4 separate regions of the Homo sapiens genome follow, and all the other regions are linked to region 1. Evidence: promoter capture Hi-C in 16 types of primary human blood cells and fetal thymus (Javierre and others, 2016). All regions are on one chromosome and are shown on one strand. The core of a region is centred on a gene start or on the middle of the fragment in contact, and the rest is flanking DNA. Distances in the headings are between cores, read along the strand shown.

Region 1 (3,603 bases), core at 385-2,884:
TGTAGGCAAGTTTGTTCTTACCATTCTTCCACCTGTCCTGGAAGCACCTTTACTGGGACTTCACAGCTACCTCTTTTGTGATCCATCCCCACAAGGTCTAGCTCTTAGTTAGCTGTCAAGAGATATCATTTGTGGCAGATACTGCTAGTTTCTTATCTAACTTATTTTCCACATCTCTTTTTTTCATTTGTAACAAAGCCCTAATTTTGTGCAGGTAGATTATCAAGGGAGGCTAGGTCCTTCCCCTAGTGACAGGGGCTGAAGCATGATGGGCCCCAAACAATTATTTATTCTTGGTAATAACTAGTTTAGGATGGGTACATGACACAATACATGTCTGTATATTTTACCTGGATTCTATTGTCAACGTTACCAACATGCTTAGGGTGGCAGAGAAGCACTGGGACCTTGATGTTGTCACTGGGCCACCGAATTAACCAACCTGTAACTGCTCTTTGAACATCCTTTCGGTGGGTTTTCTGTTACTTGTAGCTGAAACTATCCTATCAGATATTCCACAAAATCACATTACCTAAGTTGTCAAATCTCCTAATATTGTTTTAATAACCATGCAGCCATTCATTAAGCTTTTAGATACAGGAATGTGCCTGGCACTGGAATAAGGAAATATGTTGAGACTTTTCAGGCTTTTCTATCAAGGTACCTATCATTTTCGTCTTTTTTTTTCCCCAAACACCTTTATAAACTGGCAATTTCTTTCACTTACATTATCTTATAATCTTTGAAATTACCCTCTGAGTTAGCCCAGAGAGGCACTCTGAGCTGTTTGCAGCTGAGGAAAGCAAAGTTGTAAACTGGCCAAGATTACCAACCAATCAGTGGCAGAGCTTGGGGAGGAGCTCAATTTTCCAATTCCAAATGCCTACACCAGGGCACTCCCTCCTCCCCCAGCACACAATAGGAAATGACTGGCTCTAGGGTAGGCTGCATGTGAGGTATCCGGGGGCGAACAACGTCCTGCGACGCTAACCTATGGCTCTATTCTCGCGTGGGATCCTGTGACTAGGAAGCTGAAGCAGCTCGCTTAGGCTGCAGCTGCGGGTACAATACGTAATGCCTCTATAACACTTTGAGTCAGAGTCCAGCAACCTGGCCTACACCGATGTGAACGTTGTGAACGTACACAAAGATACTCCTTCATGTTCCACGGCCCCACCATCCGCTCAAGACACAAAGGACAGCTCAAGCCCAGGCTAGGCCCGAACCCCCGCCCTCTCAATCACCTTGCTCTGGCCAGACCGAAATTTCAGGCCTACAGGGCACTGTTGGCCGAACCCACATTTTGTTACCGATTTTCTTTCGAGTTCCGGTGTCTCCCAGTCTTCTTTCTGTCCTTCTTCTCGGAAACATTACGTCCCCCTGGGGTCACCCTAAGACTCTACTTCAGCAGGCAAACAGGCCCGGAGCTCACGGAGGAGACCCCGCCAGCGGAAGCGGAAATGGTTGCTTAGAGAAAAGGAGGAAAACTACCTCTCGCAGCTGCCCAGTGGCTACAGGTCCTCGGTTAAGGTGTTCAATTGGTCAACACAAAAGAAGGACTTCCCCTTCGGGAGAACTTCGACCAATCAAAGGGCAGGATGGCGGAGAGGGCTGAGGGCGGGTCGCTTCCGGCGGCTTTTCCCGCAGCTCCTGCGTAAAGGAGCATGAGAGCGTGGGAGTTTTGCAGTGGCCGTGGCGTTCTTCGTCGCGTCTCGGTCGGGCGTCGCTTTCTGCAGCTCCTGTCAGGGAGCGCGAGGCCTGTTATTAACCGCGGAGCGGTAAGTGGGCCCCTTTCGAGGCCGGGCCAAGAGGAGGAGCAGTCGGCGTAGGTTTTTAAGGGGGGGTTCGGAGGGAATCGAGGGAGGCTAGGGGTAGTGGAGGAACTTGGCAGCGGAATTGGTCCCTTTAAGAACTGTTCTCTCCCCCCGCAGCTTTGTCACGAAGTCCCTGTGGCGTCTTGAAGAAGGCATTCCCCACCCGCCAAATGGCGTCCATGCCCCCGACGCCCGAGGCCCAGGTGAGTCGAGGTACCTTTTTCGTCCAAGTTTATTGCTGCTTTCGGTCTCTGCCTGACCCCCTCCTTTGGAGGAGAGTTGGGCATGCCTGTTGTGGTAGGAGTGCTCCTGAGCCCCAAATAGCCCTTTGACCAAGTGTTCTTCGTTCCAAGACCACACACATAATGGTTTACCAACTTCCTTCTTTCAGAACTACCAACTGGGAGCAGGGACCTGTGGAGGAATCTCTGAGAGAGTTTCTCAATGTCTTATCTGTTTGTTTTGTTTTGTTTGGAGATAGGGTCTGGCCTTGTCGCTGGAGTGTTGCTTGTCTGGCTGGAGTGCAGTGCTGATATCATAGCTCCGTCTGGAACTCAGGGAATCCTTACGCCTCAGCCTCTCGAGTATCTGAGAGGCGCGCATACCACAGTGTCTGGCTACTTTTAAAAGTTCTTTTTTTTTTTTTTTTGATACAGAGTCTCGCTCTGTCGCCCAGGCTGGAGTGCAGTGGCGCGATCTCGGCTCACTGCAAGCTCCGCCTCCCGGGTTCATGCCATTCTCCTGCCTCAGCCTCCCGAGTAGATGGGACTACAGGCGCCTGCCGCCACGCCCTGCTAATTTTTTGTATTTTTAGTAGAGACGGGGTTTCACCGTGTTAGCCAGGATGGTCTCAATCTCCTGACCTTGTGATCCGCCCGCCTCGGTCTCCCAAAGTGCTGGAATTACAGGTGTGAGCCACTGCGCCCGGCCTAAAACTTCTTTATGGAGATGGAGTCTTGCTGCTTTGCCAAGGAACTCCTGGCCTTCAGCTATCCTCCCACCTCGGCTCCCCAAAGTGCTAGGATTAAAAGTGACTTTCTGGAATGGTTCCCAAAATTACAGATTTGGTACTTCTCCAATTTGAATGAATTTTTAAATTAAGCACATTTCTAGACTCCACACTCGTTGAGTAATAATAAATCCCAAGTGATTAATTTATCACACCGTTAGAGAAGGTGGGGTAGGCCTGGATGAAGTGCTGGAGTGAGCTTAGCAATGAGTGTCATGGGGACGAGAGGAAATAGCAAAGGGAAGGATGTTGGGAGAATCCTGTAACCTTTATCTCTTTATGATTCTTCCTGGGCTGCCCAACTTTCTCCTTTTCTTTTCTTTTTTTTTTTTTTTTTGAGACAGTCTCGCTGCGACGCCTAGGCTGGAGTGCAATGGCGCGATCTCGGCTCACTGCAATCTCTGCCTCCTGGATTCAAACGATTCTCCTGGCCCAGCCTCCCAAGTAGCTGGGACTACAGGCGCATGCCACCACATCTGGCTAATTTCATTTTATTTTAATTTATTTTTTGAGACAGAGTTTTTTTTGTTGTTGTTTTGTTTTTGTTTTTGTTTTTGAGATGGAGTGTCGCTCTGTTGCCCAGGCTGGAGTGCAGTGGCACGATCTCAGCTCACTGCAAGCTCTGCTTGAGACGGAGTTTTACTCTTGTTGCCCAGGCTGGAGTGCAATGGTGCAATCTCGGCTTACTGCAACCTCTTTCTCCTAGGTTCAAATGATTCTCCTGCCTCAGCCTCCCAAGTAGCTGGGATTATAGGCATGCGCCACCACACCTGGCTAATT
Region 2 (3,603 bases), core at 443-2,942, 240 kb after region 1:
CTGGGTGACAGAGCATGACCCTGTCTCAAAAAAAATTATAATTAATAGTTTAACTTAGTATAATTACTAAGTGTGTCACTAGCAAGAACATCATTTAATGAAACAACTACTGCATTAAACTCAATTGGTGAAAAATAAATTTCCTTGGGAATGAGATTCAGTCTTGATTATTTCATCAGACAGAAAACACCACCCTGCCAACTACTTTTTTCAGAGCCCCTTTCAAGTACCTGTTCCTCAGGCTGTAGATGAAAGGGTTTAGCATGGGAGTCACTACTGTATACAACACAGTAGCCATAGTGTCTTTCTCAGCTGAGTGGGAGGACAGAGGGTTAAAATACACAGCAATGATGGTGCTGTAGAAGAGGAGAACCACAGCCAGGTGAGAACCACAGGTGGAGAAGGCTTTCCACCTTCCCTTTGTGGATGGGACCTTCAGGACAGTGCAGGTGATGTGCATATAAGAAGCCAGGATGCAAAGAAATGGGGTGATCATGACCAGGGCACCCTCACTAAGGATTATGACCTCATTGAGGTGTGTGTCTGAGCAGGAGAGTTTCAGTAGGGGAGTCACATCGCAGAAGAAGTGAGTGATGGCATTGTCTGCACAGAATGAGAGTGGAGCCATCAGCAGGGTGTGCAGAAGGACATTCAGGTTGGCAACCACCCATAATCCAGCAACCAGCAGGGCACAGAGCTGATGGGTCATCTTTGCTGTGTAATGTAAGGGGTGGCACACGGCGACAAAGTGGTCATAGGCCATCACAGCTAGGAGGAAATTGTCCATGTCCACGAACATGAAAACGAAATACATCTGTGTGAGACAGCCACAGAAGGAGATGGTCTGAGTCTCGAGTATGTGATTGGCCAGCATCTTGGGGACGGTGGTGAAGGAGAAGCAGATGTCCACAAAAGACAGGTTGCTGAGGAAGAAGTACATGGGGGTGTGCAGGCAGGAGTCTATGCTTACGGACAGGATGATGAGCAGGTTCCCCAGGACAGTGGCCAGGTACATGCTGAGGAAGAACACAAAGAGGAGATGCTGCTGCTGGGGCTGCCTGGAGAGTCCCAGGAGGAGGAACTCGGAGACACTCGACTGGTTTGTCCCGCTCATGGGCCTGGGATCCTGGACACAGAGGCAGACAAAGAAGACGAAATGCAAAAGCTTGGAAAATGCTGGTTAAGATGGGGCACAGGAATGGCAGTAGAATTTTGCTTGCAGGATGTAAATGATAATATTGTCAACCCTGCTGGGGCTGCTACTGCTATGTTCAGGGCTCAGGTTTACAGAAGTCTGAGCCAGGCCTTCTTGGCTATATCCACGGAGCACCCTGAGTCCAATTTGTAAAATTAAAATGGAACAACCCAGAGGTCTGGGCAGAAACTCAGTCAGTTTGTGTTCCCCACAGTTCAGGATGTCAGACAGACGGGACAGAGGCTGGTCCTGACTGGGTGATTGCAAGGGACTGCTGCTGAGCTCAGGACTGTTTTTCTGGCTCCACATAATTGAAAGGAAGGAGGGTCCCTCTGAGGCTTTAAGTCCTGACAAGCAGTTATCAGTGAAGTCCCACTGATGTGACTCTTTTTATTTCTTTTTTTAAACGGAGTCTCGCTCTGTCGCCAGGCTAGAGTGCAGTGGCGAGATCTTGGCTCGCTGCAACCTTCAGCTCCCTAGTTCAAGTGATTCTCCTGCTTCAGCCTCCCAAGTAGCTGGGATTATAGGCACGTGCCACCACGCCCAGCTAATTTTTGTATTTTTAGTAGAGACGGGGTTTCACCATGTTGGCCATGATGGTCTCTATCTCTTGACCTCGTGATCCGCCCGCCTTGGCCTCCCAAGGTGCTGGGATTACAGGCGTGAGCCACCACACCTGGCCAATGATCTGACTCTTACCCAGAAAGAGCAGCAGTCCTCACTGTCTCCTGAAGTCCTGGGTTGGCTTCCCTTTTTCAGACCTGGCCAGAGGTTATTGGTCTGAGGGAGGGTGACTCGTCACTGGAGCTTTGAGGCTGAGTATCTCATGAATCAGGAGCTGGGCTGCACAGACTCAGCCCTTGATGCAGGAAGGATGTTTGGAAGAATCACAGGGCAAGCTCTTCACAGGAGCCTCCATGGCCACTAGGGTCATATTCCCTGAGAGCCTCATTGAGAAAAGCAGAGAGTAATTGTCCCTTCCCCTCCTTGGCTCTTTTGTGTCCGACACTGACGATAAAGCTTTGTCATACATAATTCCTGCCTCAGCACTTGGCAACACTGAAAGTGATGCAATCTAAGGGGTAATCATTGGCAACAATCCTTCTGCTAGAGGAAACTCACGACCCTGTATTTTATCCCCCACCCAGCTGGGATGCTGATCTTGTTGGGAGATACCTGTGAAGCTGTACTGGGATTAAGAAGATAACCTTTGGATTTTCACAGACCAGCACTCAATTTCCAGATCCACCATTACCAGTTGTATAGCCTTAGAAAAGCTAGTAACCTCCACTGAATCACCAGCTCCCATCATCTATAGAGTGGAGAAATAATATTCACCTTGTAGGGTTGTAATAACTAAACTAGGTAATTTATGTTAAATATCTCGTGACTCTTAACCTCATCAATGCACTGGGCTAAGACCATGTCCACTAGGTGAAGGCTGAAGATATTAAATTGTTATTATTATTATTATTATTATTATTATTATTATTATTATTATTATTTTGAGATGGAATTTCATTCTTGTTGCCCAGGCAAGGTACTACAGGCGTGCACTACCATGCCCACCAGGCTGGGCAACAGAGCGAGAATTCGTCTTAAAAACAAACAAACAACAAGAACAACAAACAACCCATAAAGCTAATTACGAAAGATCTGGGGAGGAGGAGGAGAATGGACACTGAATTAGCAAAGACATTATTTGCAAGCGATAGAAAACCAACTCATATCAGCCTAGGGAGAAATGACAGGTTAATGTCATTACAAAATCCAAGGTGTCTTCTTGCAAAGCCTTTGTGTTTCAGGCCAGACCAAATTCAGGGAGCTGAATGATAACATCAAGACCCTGTATTTCTCTATCTCACTACTGCATTGGCTTCTGCTCAGCTTCATTCTGCAGATTACCTCTCCTCATGTGGCAGCAAGATGTCCAACAGTGGCTCCAAATTCACATCCTTCCAGACTAGCAGCCACAGGGCACATGAAACTTCCCTCTACCAATGTTTATTTATTAATAACATTGTACTGATGCAGGACAAGCGAGCCCCAAAGTGAGGCCTAGTCTGCAAGGGTTCTTGGCTTTGCCCAGGAAAGAATACAAGGGCGAGCCAGTGGTAGAAGAAAACAGCTTTACTAAAGCAGCAGGCAGTGTTACAGCTGCCTGACTGCTCCTGCAGAGGAGGGCTCCCCCATAGGCAGTGTGCTGAGAGTAACAGCTCTAGGGAGTTTTGCAGCCATATTTATACCCATTTTTAAGTACATGTAGAATAAGGTGCAGTTTATGCAGAAATTTCTAGGGAAGGGGTAGTAACGTTTGGGTCACTGAGTCATTGCCATGGAAAGGGGCAGTGACGCCTGGGTGTCACTGGTGGGTATGTCTTATGGAAAGCTGCTTCCGCCCCATCTCT
Region 3 (3,603 bases), core at 809-3,308, 220 kb after region 1:
AAGACCCGAAAGCAGAAGTAATACTGGGAACCCTTTCTGGGTCTGATGGTGCTGCCTCAACCTGAGAGCTTTCATAAGTAGTTCTGAATTCCCAAGCTGCCTAAAAAGGTATAAATGTGTAAAAATCTCATTATTGCCAAAATTGGATAAATGCCCATCTTAGCTAAAACCTCAAATTGCTAGAAAATTCACAGGGAAGAAAACATTTCAAGGGCTATACCTCAGCATCTAGGCTTTTTGGACTAAGGAGCTTTCCTTTTTGAAGTTATATGATAATGTACAGGTCACAGATCCCCTTTCCCAACACTTTGAAGATGAATCTGGAGTCTGCTTACTTGGAAGGCAAAGAGTGACTTGTGTCTATTGAAAGTATATCCGTTTTCCCCCCACATGGGGATTCATACTTGAGAAATAGTGCAAAGATGCTTATCTGGAACTGTGTTCTGGTGAAAGAACCAAATTACTGGCTTGTTAGCCAACAGCTTCTGATAGCAATTCATATAACCCTCTAAGAATACCTGTTTAAGTCTTGAGTGTTGAAAGGAATTGTTTACTTTGGAATATAGGAAAACAGTTGAATGTCAGACTCTCATTTGTATGTGATCTAAATTTGCAATCAATTTCAATAATATTTACAATTTGTGATAAAACTGACTTTTACAGATTCCTTTTCACAACATAATTTAGGTGTCTACTGTTCTTATTGTATTTTGTTCTGCTGTTGATCTCTCCAGCAGCCGTCTCATGCTTCTCCCTTGCTAAAAGAAGTTTGGATTACTCAGGCAGGGCCATCCAGCCCCACCACTAGAAAAGCTCTTCAGAATCTTGTCCCTCTGTTGAGCCCAGATCTCATGTGCTACGAAGGAAACCCCAAGACCCAGAGAGGAAGGGTCAACCTGGAGGCAGGAAAAAGTTGGCTTGGATCCATGTCTCATCAATAACCTTACCATATGCTTAGGTCCCCTCTATGCTGTCATCAGACCTTTGGCAATGGGGTGGTCACTACCTCACAAGGCAAAGTGTTGTATGATTAGAAATTACGTCTCCAGTGGTTAGCTCACATTGCCTCTCAAGAGACAGGTTTCCAGGTGTCTTCATTGTAGTGGGTATTAATTGTCTTCAGCCTCTTGATATCCATACCTTCCTGTCCTCTGCCTAGAAGCAAGGCCAGCGGTGCCTTTACGGACTGATCGTGTGGTGCGATTTAGGGATTCTTCAGTTTTGCTTGCTTTAGGTTTCCAAAAGTTATACATTGGTGTTTTGATTGGAATAAAGAAATCCTATAAGCTATTTGGGAAAAATTATAGTGTATGTTTCCCATCCAGAAACATGCCTTTCTATTTATTAGAGTATTATATTCCTGTGAAAATTTTTCTAATTTTCTTCACTTGTTTTACACAATTTTGTTATTGTAGTTTTTTCCATTATATTTTTATAGTTGATTATTGCTTTTACATGGGAAAGTTATTTTTAATTATATATTTGTATAGTCATCTCACTGTTGTTAATTTTCAATAGTTTGTTGGTTTAGTTCTGTTAACTTTTGGTAAAATGACACCATCTACAAAGAATAGTTTTTGTTTCTTGCCTTCTGCCTATTGGTCTTTTTTGTTTTGTTTGTTGTTATTAACATGTAATTCTGAGGTTTCTTGTTTTGGCACAAAGCATTCTGAAAGAAGGACATTCTATGATACAGTTCAGTCCTGAATCGTAATTTAAAAACAACAAATCCTCCACAACAGAGAAAGGCCACAGAAAAACTGTCTTTACCAACATTGTATTTCAGGCCAACAGGAAGTACCCTGTAAAGCCAGCAAAGCGAACAAAACAGGCTGCCCACAACGTTATTCGCTTATTTGAAAGTCTGACCAGTGCACTAGGACTGGGATCCTGAACTGTGTTTCCAGAGTCGGCAGGCTGTTACCATGTGCAGTGGACCTGCCTGTGCACCCAGAAAAGTAGCTGCCAGGAAGTGAGTGGTGAGAGAGAGTCTCCACTCACTCTTTGGTACCCCTGCCCAGAGTCGGGTATTTTATCAGTCCTCATGCAGCCATGGCACAGTACCCGAGACAGTTAATTTTTTCTTTGAGACTGGCTCTGTTGATAAGGCTGGAGTGGGGTGATCTTGGCTCGCTGCAACCTCCCGCCTGCTAGGCTCAAGCGATCTTCCTGCCTCAACCTCTTGAGTAGCTTTTCGTTTAAGTGTAGGTGGGTGAAGCCACCACAACCCACACCATCTCATGTGTAGGGGACCTGCCCATGCATCCAGAAAAGTAGCTGCCAGGAAGTGAGTGGTGAGAGAGAGTCTCCACTCTCTCACTCTTTGGCAGCCCTGCCCAGAGTCGGGGGTTACATCAGTTCTCATGAAGCCATGGCACGGTACCTGAGACACTTTTTTCTTTAGTTGAGACTGGCTCTGTTGCTAAGGCTGGAGTGGGACGATCTTGGCTCACTGCAACCTCCACCTCCTAGGCTCAAACAATCCTCCTGCCTCAGCTTCCTGAGTAGCTTTTTGTTTTTTTAAGTGTAGGTGGGTGAAGCCACCACAACCCACACCATCTCCTGGACTGGGGAGGTGCCCACGGTCAGGGTTGCCGTCAATCAGCACCCAGTGTCCCAGAGGGCAGGACATGGGCCGCAGGGTTTCCTTCCGCAATAGTGAGGCTGGGTGGGAATGAGAGGAGCGCCCCGACCAGGACCAGGGGCCGCCCCCAAACACGAGAGCCCCTGGGAAGTTGTTGGATGAGTAAGTTCTGTTACCTAAGGAGCCTGATCACCAGTTAAGTTGAAAAAGTAAACAACAGTGAACAGTTTCCCAATATAGCGGTAGAGCGAGAGTTGGAAAATGTAAGAGACCAAAGATCCAATTCCAGTAGTAACTACAGAAAATAAGCCAGGCGCAGTGGCTCACACCTGTAATCCCAGCACTTTGGGAAGCCGAATCAGGAGGATGGCTTGAGGCCAGGAGTTCAAGACCAGCCTGGGCAACATAGTGAGACCCTGTCTACGAAAAAAAAAAAAAAAAAGATTTGGTTGAGTGCAGTGGCTCAACGCCTATAATCCCAGCACTTTGGGAGGCCAAGGCAGGTGGATCACCTGAGGTCAGGAGTTCAAGGCCAGCCTGGCCAACATGGTGAAACCCCATCTCTACTAATAATACAAAAAGTAGCCAGTTGCGGTGGCAGGCATCTGTAGTCCCAGCTACTCAGGAGGCTGAGGAAGGAGGATTGCTTGAACCCGGGAAGTGGAGTTGCAGTGAGCCGAGATTATGCCACTGCACTCTAGCCTGGGCTATAGAGTGAGATACCATTTCAAAAAACAATTATTTTTAAAATTTAAAAAACATTATCAAGACGGCATGGTGGCATGTGCGTGTAGTCCCAGCTACTTTGGAAGCTGAGGTGGGAGGATTCCTTGAATCCAGGAGTTAGAGACCAGCCTGAGCAACTTACTGAGACCACATCTTTTTTTTTTTTTTTTTTTTTTTTTTTTTTAAGAAACAGGGTCTCACTCTGTTGCGCAGACTGGAGTACAGAGCTGTGATCATAGCTCACTACAGCCCTGAACTCGTAGACTCAAGAGATCCTTCCGCCTAACTCTCCC
Region 4 (3,603 bases), core at 628-3,127, 200 kb after region 1:
TCCAGGCTGGAGTGCAGTGGCGCGATCTTGGCTCACTACAACCTCTGCCTCCCAGGTTCAAGGGATTCTCCCACCTCAGCCTCCCTAGTAGCTGGGACTACAGGAGCGTGCCACCATGCCCAGCTAATTTTTTTGGTAGACAGGGTTTCACCATATTAGCCAGGCTGGTCTCAAACTCCTGACCTCAAGTGATCCACCCACCTTGGCCTCCCAAAGCGCTGGGATTGCAGGCGTGAGCCACCGTGCCCAGCCATTTCTCTTTCCTTCCTTCCCTCCCTCCCTCCCTTCCTTCCTTTCTTCCTTCCTTCCTTTCTTTTCTTCTTGAGACAAGGTCTCACTCCCATCACTAAGGCTGGAGAGCAGTGGCACAGTCACAGCTCACTGCAGGCTCAGCTTCCTGGGCTCGGGTGATTCTGAGTAGCTGGCATCCTGAGTAGCTGGGACTACAGGCATGTGCTACCACTTCCGGCTACTTTTTTGTATTTTTAATAGAGACAGGGTTTCGCCATGTTGCCCAAGCTGGACTTGAACTCCTGGGCTCAAGCGATCCCACTGCCCCGGCCTCCTGAAGTGCTAGGATTACAGGCATGAGCCACCATACCTGGTCTATTTTTTTCTGTTGTTGCTGTTTTTATAATAGCCATTCTAATGGATGTGAAGGGATATTTTGTTGTGTGTGTTTTTTTTTCATTTATTATCTTTTTATTTCAATAGAAAGAAAGGGGTGTATAATCAATTTGACATAGATAATTCTAGTAGATAATATCAATGTCATTTTAAGTCCATTCTGAAAACTCCTTGTGGTTTTGATATCCATGTCTTTAAAGCACCCCAGTACATGACAGTCTGTGGCCAAAGTTGAGGACCAGCATTTAGACCTCTGAATCCAGGGAAGACTTTTCTTTGTGTAGCTCAGGCTGGGCTAGGTGTGCCCTGTGGAGAATGTAGTTCATTTCCAGCTCACGGGTACTTGGGCCACCCCCTCGCTCCGGCCTTCTCTGGTCAACAGTCTTTTGTCTCTAGGGCTAAGACAGTGCCTGTCCCTGAAAAGTGGACCACTCCTCAAGAGATAAAACAAAAGATCCAACTCCTCCACCAGAAGTCAGAGTTTGTGGAGAAGAGCACAAAGTACTTCTCAGGTAGATGGGCTTGGGAGAAGATTGGAGGTGCATGCTCACTTCCTCCCTAAGATCCACATAGCCCAGAGCCCCTCACTTCCCTCCTCTTCCCCTGGTCTTGCTGACCTGCCTTCAACCTCTCCTCCATCTGTCCCTGGCTGAGGGACCTAACTCCAGCTTCTCTCTGCTCCCTTTCCCACATTTTAGAAACCCTGCGTTCAGAAATGGAAATGTTCAATGGTGAGTCCAGCGGTAATGGTGTGTGCTGGCCTGGGGTTGTTGCAGTGTTCCCTTGTGCTGTTGACTTGAGGGGCCCTATTTAGAAGACAAAAAAAAAAACCAAACACCTGGAGCAAAGGTAGGAGAAAGGTCATGGCAGGCCCCCCAGGCTCTGTGCGTGACTCATTGACTGAGTTGACTCATTAGACCACAGTCCCCAACATGGCCTGGGTTCCTGGGAGGAACGGGATTATACCCAACATAGCATGCAGGGCCCTAAGCAGGGGGTTCCTTGTCTTTCCTTGTTGTCAGGACAGTGTAATTTAGCCCCTCTTAATGCTAATGCTCAGGATTTTTTTCCCTATCTGATTTTTCTCCGTAGTTCCGGAGCTGATTGGCGCTCAGGCACATGCTGGTAAGTGCCCAGATCAAGGCAAGTGGCCCTGGCCTGCTGGATCCCTGTGCTCTCCCCTACCACGTTCCAGAAGAACTACCCTGTCCCTGTTTCCTGCAGGTGGGGAGAACCCTGTAGGGATGTTGCCCATGGACCCCTACCTAGGTATTCAAATTTTCTTTGCAGTTAATGTGATTCTGGATGCAGAAACCGCTTACCCCAACCTCATCTTCTCTGATGATCTGAAGAGTGTTAGACTTGGAAACAAGTGGGAGAGGCTGCCTGATGGCCCGCAAAGATTTGACAGCTGTATCATTGTTCTGGGCTCTCCGAGTTTCCTCTCTGGCCGCCGTTACTGGGAGGTGGAGGTTGGAGACAAGACAGCATGGATCCTGGGAGCCTGCAAGACATCCATAAGCAGGAAAGGGAACATGACTCTGTCGCCAGAGAATGGCTACTGGGTGGTGATAATGATGAAGGAAAATGAGTACCAGGCGTCCAGCGTTCCCCCGACCCGCCTGCTAATAAAGGAGCCTCCCAAGCGTGTGGGCATCTTCGTGGACTACAGAGTTGGAAGCATCTCCTTTTACAATGTGACAGCCAGATCCCACATCTATACATTCGCCAGCTGCTCTTTCTCTGGGCCCCTTCAACCTATCTTCAGCCCTGGGACACGTGATGGAGGGAAGAACACAGCTCCTCTGACTATCTGTCCAGTGGGTGGTCAGGGGCCTGACTGAATGCCCAACACTGCATCTCTCTTCCTGCTTCTGGCCTTGTATCTTGCATTCACACTCAATAGTCACGGAATGCCGACTAGGTGCTAGCTGCTATGGGAAATGCAAAAATAACAAAATAGTTACTGTGCCCACGGAGCCTACCCGATTATAGCAGAGGTAAGTTAGGAACGAACATGTTAGTCAATCCGGGTGAAGACATGTACTGATGACACACCATGGATTTCAGAGGAGGAAGTACGGAGTCGTTGCATAATCCGCCCCTGGTGGGTGGCACTCTCAGGTGCTCCTGAACAGAAGATTTGGCCCTCATTTTCCCTCAGAACCCCACGGCAAGGATATATGTCCCCTTGTTCTCTCTGCTTCTGTCTTGAGGATATGGGAAGCCTAGAGAAACGCAAGCAGACTGGATTGGGATAGAAGTATTTGTGTACCTGGATTAATGAACTATGATTTTTTTTTTTTTTTTTTGAGACCAAATCTTGCTCTGTGGCCCAGGCTGGAGTGCAGTGGCACGATCTCAGCTCACTGCAACCTCCACCTCCCAGGTTCAAGCGATTCTCCTGCCTCAGCCTCCTGAGCAGCTGGGATTACAGGTGCGTGCCACCACACCAGGCTGGTTTTCTTGTATTTTTAGTAGAGACGGGGGTTTCACCATGTTAGCCAGGCTGGTCTCGAACTCCTGACCTCAGGTGATCCACCCGCCTCAGCCTCCCAAAGTGCTGGGATTACAGGCATGAGCCACTGTGCCCGGCCTATGATTCTTTTTTTTTTTTTTTTTTGAGACAAAGTTTTGCTCTTGTCACCCAGGCTGGAGTGCAGTGGTGCAATCTTGGCTCGCAACCTCCGCCTCCCAGGTTCAAGAGATTCTCCTGCCTCAGCCTCCGAAGTAGCTGGGATTACAGGCGCCCGCCACCATGCCCGGCTAATTTTTTGCATTTTTAGTAGACATGAGGTTTCATCATGTTGGCCAGGCCGGTCTCAAACTCCTGACCTCAGGTGATGCACCCACCTCAGCCTCCCAAAGTGCAGGGATTACAGGCATGAGCCACCATGCCGGGCCATGATTCTTAAGAGAATTGACTGGGCCTCATGAATAAAAAAATTAGAAAATCTGGTCATTTGCATTTGTCAC

What was found. The method cuts DNA at HindIII sites, captures the fragments that hold promoters and counts their contacts. A CHiCAGO score of 5 or more calls a contact.
Region 2: a contact is called between a fragment that was not itself captured here and the fragment with the promoter of ZNF597 in region 1, in 10 of 17 cell types (erythroblasts, M1 macrophages, monocytes and 7 more). The highest score is 9.8, in erythroblasts.
Region 3: a contact is called between a fragment that was not itself captured here and the fragment with the promoter of ZNF597 in region 1, in 8 of 17 cell types (monocytes, fetal thymus, M1 macrophages and 5 more). The highest score is 8.1, in monocytes.
Region 4: a fragment that was not itself captured here is called in contact with the fragment with the promoter of ZNF597 in region 1 in 12 of 17 cell types (total CD8 T cells, monocytes, total CD4 T cells and 9 more); the score reaches 9.0 in total CD8 T cells.

The regions. Positions count from the first base shown.
Region 1 is chr16:3,441,535-3,445,137 of GRCh38, reverse strand. It overlaps ZNF597 (zinc finger protein 597), which reads left to right and starts at 1,634. Exons shown (of 4, transcript NM_152457.3): 1 at 1,634-1,778; 2 at 1,932-2,017. The coding sequence starts at 1,985. NAA60 (N-alpha-acetyltransferase 60, NatF catalytic subunit) reads right to left here and starts at 1,458. Exons shown (of 8, transcript NM_001083601.3): 1 at 1,301-1,458. RefSeq lists an enhancer at 1,225-1,374. The HindIII fragment of the contact is 9,083 bases long and covers 590-3,603 here.
Region 2 is chr16:3,201,758-3,205,360 of GRCh38, reverse strand. OR1F1 (olfactory receptor family 1 subfamily F member 1) reads right to left here. Exons shown (of 4, transcript NM_001370640.6): 4 at 1-1,126. The coding sequence starts at 1,114. The coding sequence ends at 176. Among named protein-coding and RNA genes, the nearest start is that of TRP-AGG1-1, 12 kb to the right of the region's middle. The HindIII fragment of the contact is 1,050 bases long and covers 1,168-2,217 here.
Region 3 is chr16:3,220,310-3,223,912 of GRCh38, reverse strand. It overlaps ZNF200 (zinc finger protein 200), which reads left to right. Exons shown (of 5, transcript NM_198088.3): 5 at 1-1,588. The coding sequence ends at 21. Among named protein-coding and RNA genes, the nearest start is that of ZNF200, 13 kb to the left of the region's middle. The HindIII fragment of the contact is 4,719 bases long and covers 1-3,603 here.
Region 4 is chr16:3,242,009-3,245,611 of GRCh38, reverse strand. MEFV (MEFV innate immunity regulator, pyrin) reads left to right here. Exons shown (of 10, transcript NM_000243.3): 7 at 1,024-1,139; 8 at 1,326-1,358; 9 at 1,720-1,752; 10 at 1,918-3,585. The coding sequence ends at 2,471. Among named protein-coding and RNA genes, the nearest start is that of ZNF200, 8.7 kb to the right of the region's middle. RefSeq lists an enhancer at 1,091-2,290. The HindIII fragment of the contact is 4,878 bases long and covers 1-3,603 here.